Linked DNA regions of Homo sapiens: regions 1 and 2 are each linked to region 3. The links are contacts of gene promoters, found by promoter capture Hi-C in blood cells and fetal thymus (Javierre and others, 2016). All regions are on one chromosome and are shown on one strand. Each heading gives the region's core, a stretch centred on a gene start or on the middle of the fragment in contact. The rest is flanking DNA. Distances are from core to core; before and after follow the strand shown.

The links. The method cuts DNA at HindIII sites, captures the fragments that hold promoters and counts their contacts. A CHiCAGO score of 5 or more calls a contact.
Region 1: a fragment that was not itself captured here is called in contact with the fragment with the promoter of CLEC4E in region 3 in 4 of 17 cell types (erythroblasts, total CD8 T cells, non-activated CD4 T cells and 1 more); the score reaches 7.0 in erythroblasts.
Region 2: a fragment that was not itself captured here is called in contact with the fragment with the promoter of CLEC4E in region 3 in 2 of 17 cell types (total B cells and erythroblasts); the score reaches 5.1 in total B cells.

Annotation. Positions count from the first base shown.
Region 1 is chr12:9,096,560-9,100,771 of GRCh38, reverse strand. It overlaps A2M (alpha-2-macroglobulin), which reads left to right. Exons shown (of 36, transcript NM_000014.6): 14 at 1,249-1,391; 15 at 2,016-2,165. It also overlaps a transcript of KLRG1 not described here. Among named protein-coding and RNA genes, the nearest start is that of A2M, 17 kb to the left of the region's middle. The HindIII fragment of the contact is 946 bases long and covers 2,474-3,419 here.
Region 2 is chr12:9,063,331-9,067,587 of GRCh38, reverse strand. LINC00612 (long intergenic non-protein coding RNA 612) reads left to right here and starts at 2,518. Exons shown (of 3, transcript NR_034140.1): 1 at 2,518-3,320. A2M-AS1 (A2M antisense RNA 1) reads right to left here and starts at 2,411. Exons shown (of 2, transcript NR_137425.1): 1 at 2,360-2,411; 2 at 1-1,762. It also overlaps a transcript of KLRG1 not described here. RefSeq lists silencers at 3,023-3,072, 3,133-3,182. The HindIII fragment of the contact is 7,774 bases long and covers 1-4,257 here.
Region 3 is chr12:8,538,946-8,543,081 of GRCh38, reverse strand. It overlaps CLEC4E (C-type lectin domain family 4 member E), which reads left to right and starts at 2,177. Exons shown (of 6, transcript NM_014358.4): 1 at 2,177-2,321; 2 at 3,135-3,227; 3 at 3,776-3,865. The coding sequence starts at 2,285. The HindIII fragment of the contact is 5,761 bases long and covers 1-4,136 here.

The DNA.
Region 1 (4,212 bases), core at 1,697-4,196, 560 kb before region 3:
TGTTTGGTTTTCCATTCCTGAGCTGGGAATATCAGGAATACTTTCAAGTAACGAGAGACCATTTCCATCTAATATTAATTAAAAGAAAGTTGAGGGAGGGAAAACAATAATGGTTTTTTTCTCACCCTTTATCAAATATGTGTTGTCTTTTTTTTCAGCCTATTTTCTTTGCGTTATTTAAAATATTGGTGTGGGCCAGCTATGATGGCTTACGCCTGTAATCCCAGTACTTTGGGAGAACGGGATGGGAGGATCTCTTGAGGTCAGGAGTTTGAGACCAGCCTGGTCAACATAGTGAGACCCCATCTCTATAAAAGTAAATAAATAAATAAATAAATAAATAAGAACAAAGGGGGAAAAATAAAATACATAAAATATTGTTGTGTATAATCTATGCTTATTCCAGATTTTTAAACCATAAATATTCTTGAACCTCTTCTCAAAATGAGAATTGTGTTAGAGAATGGGGTGGAGAAAATGTACGATTTCAAGGTATGTTGTATATACCAGGTCTTGTGCTGAGTCATTTATGTCATTTATATTATTATAAATATCTTTTTTCCCTTTCAAGATAGTTATGATTTATGAAGCATTAAATTGGGTACTTCTACCGACTGAAGCGGACTCTTGCCATGAGCAAATATGTCATAATATAAACCTTTGAAGGTTGCTCCTAGTCTAGTAGACTCTAAAAGATAACTTGCTAGAAAAGTATCAGTAATCTACTCTCTCATTAGTTCTTGTAGCAACACAGAAGCACCATAGCAGACTGAAGGAAACTTAATGCAACCTCTAAAGAATCTACATAGGCATCAAAAAATAACTTCTGAAGGAGCATGGTGTTCCTCTTATGGAGAAAGAACCAAATATTGGCTCATAGAAGGTTAAAGAGCATGTAGCATGAATACAATGTGTTGAACTCTTACTCTTACATCTCATAACTTCAGGTTCTATTTCCCTCTTCTAGTATGAGGCCTAGATCAAATGGTAGTGAATTGGATGTCTTCATACCCTTAACTAGCATCAGAACATTAGGTGGGTGAGCTGAAGCTTAAAGCTGGTGAAAAATCAACAGAGTATATGATTTATGAGAGGAGAGAGGGCTTTGATAGGGTTTTTTTCTAAAGCTAGAGTCCTTAGAGGTAATCATCCATTTGTTACATCTACTGTTTATTATGTCTGTTACATCTACTAATGGAAATAGTCATTAACCTATGATGGCTTCCTCTCATTCTCTTTGTGCCCCAGTGAAGGGCCATTTTTCCATCTCAATCCCTGTGAAGTCAGACATTGCTCCTGTCGCTCGGTTGCTCATCTATGCTGTTTTACCTACCGGGGACGTGATTGGGGATTCTGCAAAATATGATGTTGAAAATTGTCTGGCCAACAAGGTGTGTGTTTTAGATCATAAAATCTTCAACATGTAAAACTAGAAGTTACTATTGTTATCATTTGTTTTACACATGTGAACATTAGGGCCAAAAGGGTTAAACAAATTCCCCAGAGACATTCAGCAAGGTAGTGGCAGAGTCACACTAAGAAGCAGAATCACTTGATTCCTTATACAAAACTCTCAAACTTCTCCTAGCAGTGCCTCTTACCAATTACACAGTTCAGAGTATGTTATTCCCTTCTTCTATGATGAAACGTTGGGAAATATGTAAGCAAGTTTTTAAGACTACTAAGGAGCCAAAAGAAAAATGCAAGAGCACCTAGACCCATGCATGTCCCACCACAATTAATGAGCACCTTGCCGTGTATCAAAGATAAAAATGGCATTTCATGACTAGTAATTTATAAGAATAATTAGAAATAATTCTACTGGCTCAAGTGATTCTTGAGAATGAAAGAGAAGTGTAGGGAACAAAAAGCTTCAGGATTGACACAATGCCAACCCTCCACGAAGTCAAGCAGAGTGGTTATACATTGTACATGAGGAACACTCTGCAAATGCGAGTGAATGCATGGGTAAACCTGGAAATTTGCTTTTCTGACCTTTTGTTCCAATTTCACAGGTGGATTTGAGCTTCAGCCCATCACAAAGTCTCCCAGCCTCACACGCCCACCTGCGAGTCACAGCGGCTCCTCAGTCCGTCTGCGCCCTCCGTGCTGTGGACCAAAGCGTGCTGCTCATGAAGCCTGATGCTGAGCTCTCGGCGTCCTCGGTGAGTTCCTGGCAGCCTCAGGAATCAAGAAGGGCCGTGCCAGGGGCTCAGAGCAAGGAAAAATGACTGGATAAGTAGGATAAGATCAATTAAAATTATATTTATCTAGGAATTAATTGCTTTGAGCTCTCTTGTGGGCTTTCATTGGTAAGGAATTATATATATATATATATATAACTACTCACTTCTGCAGTTAAAAAAATAAACAAAATACAATATATTGAATCAAATAAAAGAATTTTTAAAAGGACAAAATGTGATGAAAATTAACAACCAAAAAAGGACTCGTTATTCAGACACGTTAAGCTTCTTGCTCAAGAGCACATAGCAATACAAATTCAAATCTTCTGATTGTGTCAGGACATCCGTATATGCAAGGCTGGAGAGAATACAGAGCAGATTGTGAAAAGTGCTATATGAGAAGTGCAGTTATGCAAAATAAAAGAAAGGATTAACTGAGCAACCGGGGAAGCCGTTCGAAAATTATATATTTAAAATGTAAAAAGACCATACAGTACCCAAAGTCCTTAAAATCCCAGAGCTCCATGCAACCAGTAATAGGAGTTGTCAAACTAGTTTCAACATTTCAAAAAGCCTAACAAAAGTGATACATATACCTGCACTGAGGCTATACAGGCTAAATGAAATATCAGATTTCCGTTTTTATAAGAATTATGGCTGGGCCTGGTGGCTCACGCCTGTAATCCCAACACTGGGAGGCCAAGGCAGGCAGATAACTTGAGATCAGGAGTTTGAGACCAGTCTGGCCAATATAATGAAACCCCGTATCTACTAAAAATACAAAAATTAGTCAGACGTGGTGGCGGGCGCCTGTCATCCCAGCTACTCAGGAGGCTGAGGCAGGAGAATCACTTGAACCCAGGAGGCAGAGGTTGAGTGAGCCGAGATCGTGCCACTGCACTCCAGCCTGGGCAATAGAGCAAGACTTGGTGTCAAAAAAAAAAAAAAAAAAAGAATTACATCAGTTGAAATAATTGCTGTCCCAAGCTACACATAATTTCTGAGGGAACATATGTATTATCTCTGAGGAACAAAACTTAGGGAAATTGAACTACTATATAATTGACATTGATAACTGAACTCTTTGAAAATATGGAGCTAATAGAAGAAATACCAAAAGGATATGCTGAATTGGAACAACAAAAACTAGTTAATAGCATGTACTAATAGTAGTTTGCTCACATCTTCAAATTTTTAATATGAGACCAATTGTAATAACCTCTTACTGAAGCTTTTTCTACTACCATAATTTAACAAAGAGAAATTTATATTTTTATTTTCCTGAAATAGAAACTTATAAAAAAATGTTTCTTACTTGTTTGTCCTTCTAATGGGATTTTAACTGAAAATATTAGAATACTTCTAAAGGAAGCATCAAGTACATTTCAACAGTAGGATCTCAAGAGGATATGTGGGAAAATAATATACATGTTTTATACTTTTATAATATAATTTTATAATTCTCAAAGAATTTTTCAAATTATAACAACCCTGATGGGTAGATAAGGCAGACAGTCCTATTTATTAATAATAAAGCAGAAGCTTTCAGGGATTTAGTAGTAGACCTGAGTTAAAACACCAACTCTTCTCAAGCTTTGATTAGTGTCTTACCAATGAAACACTTTGCTGCTACTAGTGTAGGTCATTCATTCAACACATTTATTTAATGCCCACTGTGTTCTAGGTATTATACTAAGTGCTAGTAGAGATCAAGCAGTGAGCTACTGGAAAGATAAAAATGTATGTCTCATGGAACTTACATTGTCTGTCCCATAGATGAGACAGACAATAATTATGCAATATGCCACAATAAAAGCAGGGAGAGGAAATGAGAAATGTTAAGATACTTTGAGAAAGTGTCTAATTTCATCACACCACTCACTTTGCTCATCTGTTCTTGTCAATCAGTTTTAAACTCCTACGAATATAATGCAATGTAACTATCACAATTTTTATGTCTGTCTTACTTCTCACCTTCAAATGGACTTGAAAGCATCATGCCTAGAATTTTACGGTTAAAGTTGTA
Region 2 (4,257 bases), core at 1,347-3,846, 520 kb before region 3:
GATACAGTGATGTCGGTCTGAGTAGGCTTCATGTAAGGACTGTGGGGAAAGAAGAAAGTATTGGGTTATGTACTAGGAAAGTGTAAAGTGTGTTTGGTTATGGGAATACCCTATGAAAAACCCAAAGGGTGAATTTTTATGAGAAAATAAAAGACTGACTTCACCAGAAAAGACTTTTTACATTAAAATGAAGTAGAATGAAATACAACATTGAACATGTCATATTGAGAGGCAAGATAATTGGGACTTGACCTGAATTGGGAGTGATGTGTCCTATGTTACACCAAAATCTGCCACTGATGAGAGTGATCAGTCAGTTAACCTGGGGTTTCAGATTCAATAATAGATGAGCTGAAAATAATGAAGGGAGGATTCATGCAGAAGCACGTTTTCTCAGAAGAAGGAATGTGTATGACTCAAAGTCCAAATAGGAGTATTATATTGGATCATCTTTCTTCTGGAACTTTGAGCCAGGATTAAAGGATAGCTGTAAAGTCAAGGAGATATTCTGATGCAGAAATCAGTTCTCACAACATCTGATTGATGTCTGATGTCTCACAACATCTCTTTAGTCTATTTTTAAAATATATAATTTTCTTTGCAGTAAGTATTGCGACATATATTTCCATTCTATAGAAGGGGAAGCAAAACTTCAGGAGTTTTTGAAGTAGGAAAGGTTAAAGCAGGAGGATTGAGCCAAGAGAGTCTGAGGACAATCGTAGGAGTCCTACTCTTCATTTGGCACAAAAATGACAATGCTTAGTTAGGCAGAAGGTGAGTATGGATTGTATAAACTAAGAACTGGAAAAGACTTTGCAGTTCAAGGAATCCTTAGCTCTGTCTCCAGGCTAGACAAAATAAGAAATAAAAGCTATCACTTCTGTGTGGTGCTTATAGAATAGAATTAACATATCAGCATTATGGGATCTTTAGGGTGTCGCTTTCCTGGCCAGTCTAGTGGCACCTTTGCCTGAGTTTTGCTCTGGGCCCACTGGGCTGCTTCTGCCCACTCGCACTTGCTACCAACCTGGATCCCGGATCCAAGGGAGATTGAGACGGGTGGAGCAGAGGGGTGTGCTAGGGGTGTGTGAGCAAGCGTGGCCACTGTGCAGTCACACACACAAGCTGCTGCCCAGGTTGGGCAGCTCCAGGTGCCAGCACAGGCTCTCCATGAGGTGGCTGGACCAGGCACACAACAAACAGCTTCCCCCTGGACCAGGCGCATCACAAGCAGCTTCCAACAGTGGCACTGGCGAATGCAGTGACGCCAACCAGGGCCCCAAAGAGGGAGTCACAGCCCGGGCTCAAGGAGCTCCCAGGTCTGGGCTTCTCCGAGGGCCAGAGCTCTTCTCTCCCTGTGGGGAGCAAGGGGCATGTTGCAGCCCTGTTTGTGTTACAGCTCTTTTAACCTTGCTGTGCAGCTCCTCAGCTCCTGCATCAAGCAGACAAGTGGAGAATGAGACAGATGAAGAGGAGCATTACTGAGCAATGGAACAGAAGGATAAGGAAGATGAAGAGGAAGGAGACCTGCAGTTAGTAGCTCATTTCCACAGTAAGGATGTCCTTTCCACAGCAAGGGTGTCCCAACGAGTGTTCAGCTTCTAGCAGAACGGAGACCCTGGAGTGGCTGGCTCCTCTCTGCAAACAGGTCTTCCCATTGAGTGTTCAGCTTTCAGCAGAGAGGAGGTTCTGGAATGGGTAGTTTCTCTCCACAGGTAGGTCATCCATTGTCTTCCCATCCTCTCTTCCAATCTAGCTGAGTCTGGGGGATTTTATGAGCCTCAGAGGGAGGAAATGCATGCTGATTGGTCCATGGGCAGCCATGAGTGGGCCCAGGGAGCAGCACCACAAGTTACCTCTCTGGTCTGCAGGCTTCAAGCCCTCACCAGCTTGAGGGTGGGACTTCACTGGGGACCCATCCCCTTCCACCCAGGAACCTGTCTGCCTCCTGCTCCCAGGCTGTTCATGCCAAGGAGCGCCTGCAAGTCAGTGTCCAGCTGTCTTCAGACCCCTCTCAGCCTCCCTCCCACGCTTGTTGGTGCCCAAGTTCCAAAGGGGGCCGAGACGGCAGGGGGCTGGCGTATCAGCACTGTCCTGAGCGTGTGCACGCTCGGCCAGGCTGTGACAGTACCCAGGCTCGGCCCGACCTTGCTCTGAGTTCAGAGTGGGTGCTAACAGTGGAGAGAAGCCAGGCAGCCGGAGTAGGCACCCTGGAGCCTGCAGTGGGCAGGGGACTTTGCTGGGCCTCTGAGAGCACAGAAAATGTCCACAGCCGCGGCAAGGTGGCTGCAGCTGCACCCTGGGAGCTCCTGCTCCACCAGTTCGGAAGGGGCGGGGCTCCTGCTTGTCCCTGGCTCACCTGCTCCTGAGTGTGCAGGTCCGGTGGCGCCTCCTTGCAGGCTGGGCTGATGGGCGGGGGCGGGGGGGGGGGGGGGGAGGAAGGGAATGTTCCAGGTCCTCCCTGGGCCCGGGACTGTGTCCGGGGCAGGGATGACGTCGCTGCAAGTTCTTCCCGTGGCCCCGGGGCTCAGGGGCAGCCCAGGACTCTCCCTCGCCCGGCTCACGGCCCTGCCTGGGGGGCGCCTCCGGGAGCAGATCACGAGCCCTGGGGCTCAGCCCTCAGGCGCGTCTAGCTCGGCGGTCACCCCAGTGCCGGGAGGACCCTGAAGACGCGCCCCAGGCGGCCCTACTCAGAGCCTCCTCCCAAGGCCCAGGAATGCGGCGCTGTCGGAGGTGTGCGCGGTGGCCACACCGCTGTCCGGGTCCCCAAAGCGGGCCCCGCTCCCACTTCTCGCCTTGGCCCCGAACCCTGGGTCCAGCCCCAGCGCTTTGTGTGCGAACACCGCTCCGCCCCGGACCCAGCTCCGCCTTGGGGCCCCTCTCTGCCTGCCCCTCCGTGCCCGACTACACTGCTTCCCCTCCGGCGGGCGACTCAGCCCGGTCCATCGTGGCGGCTTCCAGGGCGGCAGGCTCCGGGAGTACTCCCGGGGCCGGCTCCAAGGACTGTTCCCCTCCTCCCCACTCCCACTCCGCGGCGGCGGCGGGCGAGAGCGGCGACATAGGGCCAGGGTCCGGAGCGGTGGAGGCTCCTGGCCGGGGAGCACGTCGCCCCACCCGGCAACGCGAGGATGGTGGCGGCGCAGTCGGCTGCTTTGGGGTCTCAAGGCACAGGGGACGCGAGGCACAGATGTCCCACAGCAGCCACTGCGGCTCCCGCAGCTGCTCCGCCGCCGCTGCCCGCCCCTCCCTGCTGCAGCTGGCGTGATGGCAGCGGCAGCTCTGGACGCCCCACTGCTGCCACCATCAGCCTTGTGAAATAGGTACTACCTTAACAAATGAAATTGAAGCAGAGACATGTAATTTGCCCAAAGTTACTAAGTTAGTGACAAAGCTAGAATTCAAGACCAAGAAGTCTAGCTTCCATGCTCTTAACTTCCAACCATGGTGACACCTCAAACAACTTCAGACAAAAAGGCCAGGAGAAAGTATATTTCAGAGCTTAATAAACATTATAATTAGCTGTCAAATTAAGTATCAAGCCAGGGCACAGAACATAAAAGAAATCAGAGTATGGCTATGGGAACAAGACAACAGGATTATAATTTTACCTCTTGGTTCTAGTTTTTTTCTTTGTTCATATGGAAATCGTTACTGAAAAGGTACTTTAAGGATATGCTTGTTGCAAATCATTAGCTGTATCACTGACCAAGAGTGTTTATTCCTGAAATACTAACTGATTGCCTACTATCTGCCAGGCACAATATCCCATGCTATAATACAAAATTAAACAAAATAGGATTCCTCCCTTAGAAAAACTCACCGCAGAGTAAAAGAAAAAGATACACATCTGGGTCATTATAATGATCAGGTGCTCAAGCTATTCATTGCCCCAGTGGACTGGAGATACAATGGCCTTCTCAAGTTTTGGGGTATTACACTCAAATTCATATGTAATACTGGAGAAAAGGCCTAATTACAACTTAAACTGGATTTCCCACCAGCCTGGTGGCATGGGAATCTTGGAATTAAAATTACGTAGAATTTTTAAAAGTGATGTATCTTCTACATCTGATTTTGTGAACTGAAGTTTATTCTTTCCAGGAAAGCATATAGATACACGACAGGAAATGAAATGGATACTTGTTGGGGTCAGTTTTATGTATAGTTTGTATTTTATTTTGAAATATGATACACTGCTATTCTCTTGCATTTTCTTATATGTGACTCACCACTAACCCTATATTCCCCCATTTCAGG
Region 3 (4,136 bases), core at 928-3,427:
AAGTGTAATAAAAGATAAATAAAAATAAATAAAAATTAATCCCCCCCCCCAAAAAAGAAATCATTAAGCATGGTCAACTTTAGAAGAATGCACTAAGGATAGTTAAGAAGGCTTTTACTTGTCACATGCTTTTCATAGTATTAATCATAAAACATATTACTCGTATAATTTGGGGAAAATCAATGAAACAAAAGATATAAAAACATTTTGGCTGGAAAAAATATTAATTTATTGATTTCTGTTTAATTGTATATTGATAAAAATTAACATACAATTGTTTAGTAATATTGATGGTTGCTGGTTGATTGTAATTAATAAAAGATGGACTGTGGTAATTATGTTCATCATTTTATAATTCATATAGCTCATCCACTAGATAGTTTCTCTTTTTTTACTGATCAAAAGCTATTTGCTGAGAATACACATATTAAATATGGGTATATTCTATAATATACACATATATAATTTAAAGATATTTTTAAAATTGTATTACTATAAAACAGAGAATGCAGAGAAAATTGACCAGTACCTTGAAATAATAAAAAGTCCCTTTGAGAACAAGAATATTTTCTCACACATGGAAAATTCGTGAGTCACTGGATGTGGGGATTTACCAAGTCATGTACATCATACTTATGCCTCCTGACTCGTGAACTTAAATAAACTGAGACCAGTGTGATCTTATTCTTAAGTATCTTTAAGTAAGGAGAAGGCACATATCTAACTATTCTTCCAGAGAAGCATTAATTCTTTTTTTTTTTTTTTTTTGAGACAGAGTCTCACTCTATCGCCCAGGCTGGAGTGCAGTGGTGCAATTTTGGCTCACTGCAACCTCTGCCTCCCAGGATCAAGCTATTCTCCTGTCTCAGCCTCTCAAGTATCTGGAATTACAGATGCGTGCCACCACACTTGGCTAATTTTTGTATTTTTAGTAGAGGTGGGGTTTCACCATGTTGGCCAGGCTGGTCTCAAACTCCTGACCTCAAATGATCCACCCACCTTGGCCTCCCAAAGTGTTGGAATTACAGGCATGAGCCACTGCTCCCGGCCCAGAGAACCATTAAATTCTAATATCTAATTGAAATTGCTTTTTCTGACCTTCAAATACATTTCTCCTACTGTAGGCTGTAACATAGAACTAAAATCCCCAAATAATTGAGAACAGGAGAATTAAACTGCCTGCTGGGTCTCTGAGACTTCAGAAGCTGCGTTATGTTGTGAAAAACTAAGCTGAGTTTCAAAGTGGTCTAATCACATGAGGCTGTCCTGCTGAGGGGGACTCTAGTAGTCAGCCTAGTAGTAGCAGCCTAGTAGTCAGCATAAGATAAGAGGGACATAAATCCACAACATTAGAATATTCAAGAGCTGCAAATGAAGAAGAAAGAAAAACCATAAAAGATGAAAAAGAGGACGGGCGCGGTGGCTCACGCCTGTAATCTCAGGACTTTGGGAGGCTGAGGCGGGCGGATCACGAGGTCAGGAAATTGAAACCATCCTGACGACCACAGTGAAACCCCGTCTCTGCTAAAAATACAAAAAATTAGCCAGGCGTGGTGGCGAGCGCCTGTAGTCCCAGCTACTCGGGAGGCTGAGGCAGGAGAATGGCTTGAACCCGGGAGGCGGAGCTTGCAGTGAGCGGAGATCATGCCACTGCACTCCAGCCTGGACGACAGAGCGAGACTCTGTCTCAAAAAAAAAAAAAAAAAAAAAGATGAAAAAATTCAGGTTGCCATGTCCTAAATACATACACTATATGCCCAGCTTTGTGCTATGTTGTCTAAGTCTTCTTTTCAGTTACCAAATGTGTGGATGGTACAGATCCAAAGTGAAATTCAGAGTGCAGAGGTGAGCTCCATATTGTCAAGGAAAAACTGGGGGATGAGTTATGCCTTGAAGAAACTAGAGACATTTGGTCCAACGAAACGAAACAACATTTAAAAAAAAAACTCTCCTGTTTCCCCATGGCTAGCCTATTTGTGTTGATGCTTACCATTTCATAATTTCCTCATTTTGTTGTTACATGGAGTGAAGAGAACTGACATGCTGTCCAATAAACTTCCTTGTCCTCCTTATGCAAGAAAGGAAATCCTGACTTAATGCGTAGCCACAGAACAAGTTAATATTCTACATCTATCGGAGCTGAACTTCCTAAAAGACAAAGTGTTTATCTTTCAAGATTCATTCTCCCTGAATCTTACCAACAAAACACTCCTGAGGAGAAAGAAAGAGAGGGAGGGAGAGAAAAAGAGAGAGAGAGAAACAAAAAACCAAAGAGAGAGAAAAAATGAATTCATCTAAATCATCTGAAACACAATGCACAGGTAAAATCTGCAACTCTTCCTTTCCTTCCATAGATCTCTTTTTGGAACAAGTGATAAATATGGTGAAAGACAGGACAATAGAAAAGTATTCACTGAAGTTAAAAAAAAAAGTGGGGGGACAGAGGAAGAGAGAGAGAGAGATTTAAAGACTATTTCTTATACCAGAAAGCCTGCTGGCCTCTAGCTAAGGGAGAGCTATCAGTTTCCACCCTTTCTGCAATACATTGTGTCCCTTTTGGCAAGTCACTTCACTTCTCTGGAACTCTCTTTGTCTGTAAAATGTTTAATGGGAGGAAGAGAGGAACTATTAGATGACTGTTAACATTTTACCTAATTTACAAAGCGCTTGAAAAGTGAGACACAGAAAAAAAAAAAAGATCAGGAGAAGGACAAGAAAAGCAAAGACGAGAAAAGGGAAAAGAAAGAAAAAGAAAGAAGGGGGGCCTTAGAAAATACTGAAAAAAATTTAACTGAGAGACTTAGAAAGGAAAAATTGTATATCTGAGTTCATGAGTCAGAGTCTTACTCCAGGGGTGCTAAACGTGTGGTCCTCAGACCAGCAGCAGCAGTAGCCCCTGGGAACTTGTTGGTTCCATACAAACTCTACTGAGTTGCTAACTCTGGGGGTAAGGGTCAGCAATCTGTGTTTCCATAAACCCTCCAAGTGATTCTGAAGCATGCTGAAATTTGGGAATTACTCAGTACAAACAATGGAAGTAGAAGGAAATAAGTAAGGATGAATAAGAATCTCTTCTATCTCTTTTGTACCTTGCTTAGGGAAGATTGATCATGTTTGTGTCTTTCTTTCTACAGAGAGAGGATGCTTCTCTTCCCAAATGTTCTTATGGACTGTTGCTGGGATCCCCATCCTATTTCTCAGTGCCTGTTTCATCACCAGATGTGTTGGTGGGTTCTGAAGGTCAAATTCAATTTAATTCTTCCTGGTGCATATTAGGAGAAAACTCTTCCATGCTGCCTGTAGACTCTCTTTGCCCTCAAAGGGTCTTTCTATTTCACCCTTTTTTTTTTCCCTATTAATCTCTAGGTTATTTCTCAAACCAGAAACCTCAACAAGCAGGGAACTGTTTCTGAATTTTAATCACCTGTGACTTACTTTTCATGATAGACATTTTTCACTTCCTTGGCAGTCCTGAATCCTCCTCTTTCAGCCTCTATCATTAGTGTAACCTTCTCTAGGAGAGTCTGCCTTAGAGCTTGAACTACTGGTCGGCACCAGAGATATGACTAATTACTTTTGGAAGGAAGGGTAGAGAGAGTTGGACTTGGCATAAGAGGTAGTGCAAACATATCTATTTTCTCTGGGTCGTAAGAAAAAGCAGATTGTAAGAAAAAACATGATAATTATTGGCACTTTTGTTATAAATACAAAACTGAGGGAACTGACATTTTTAACCGAAATAAGACTAACAAACATTATGCCCTTTCTTTTACAGTGACATTTCGCATCTTTCAAACCTGTGATGAGAAAAAGTTTCAGCTACCTGAGAATTTCACAGAGCTCTCCTGCTACAATTATGGATCAGGTATAATAGTCCCAAAGGTGAACATCAAAATTTACAAAGCAACATTTTCTGGCTTCTAGATTGACTTTGGGACAGGTGAGATATAGCTGGATTAGGTCTTATTTTTCAAAAGCAAAATGTAAAATCCTAGAAATTTGGTGATGCAATTAGCATTGGGGCAGAAAGTCTTGGGGACATTATAGTAAACTTTTAGAATAAATTTGAGGGGTATGTCTGAACAGTAAATCTGGAAGTGGAAGGTATTATTCCCAGGAGTGTACCTTTTTTTTCA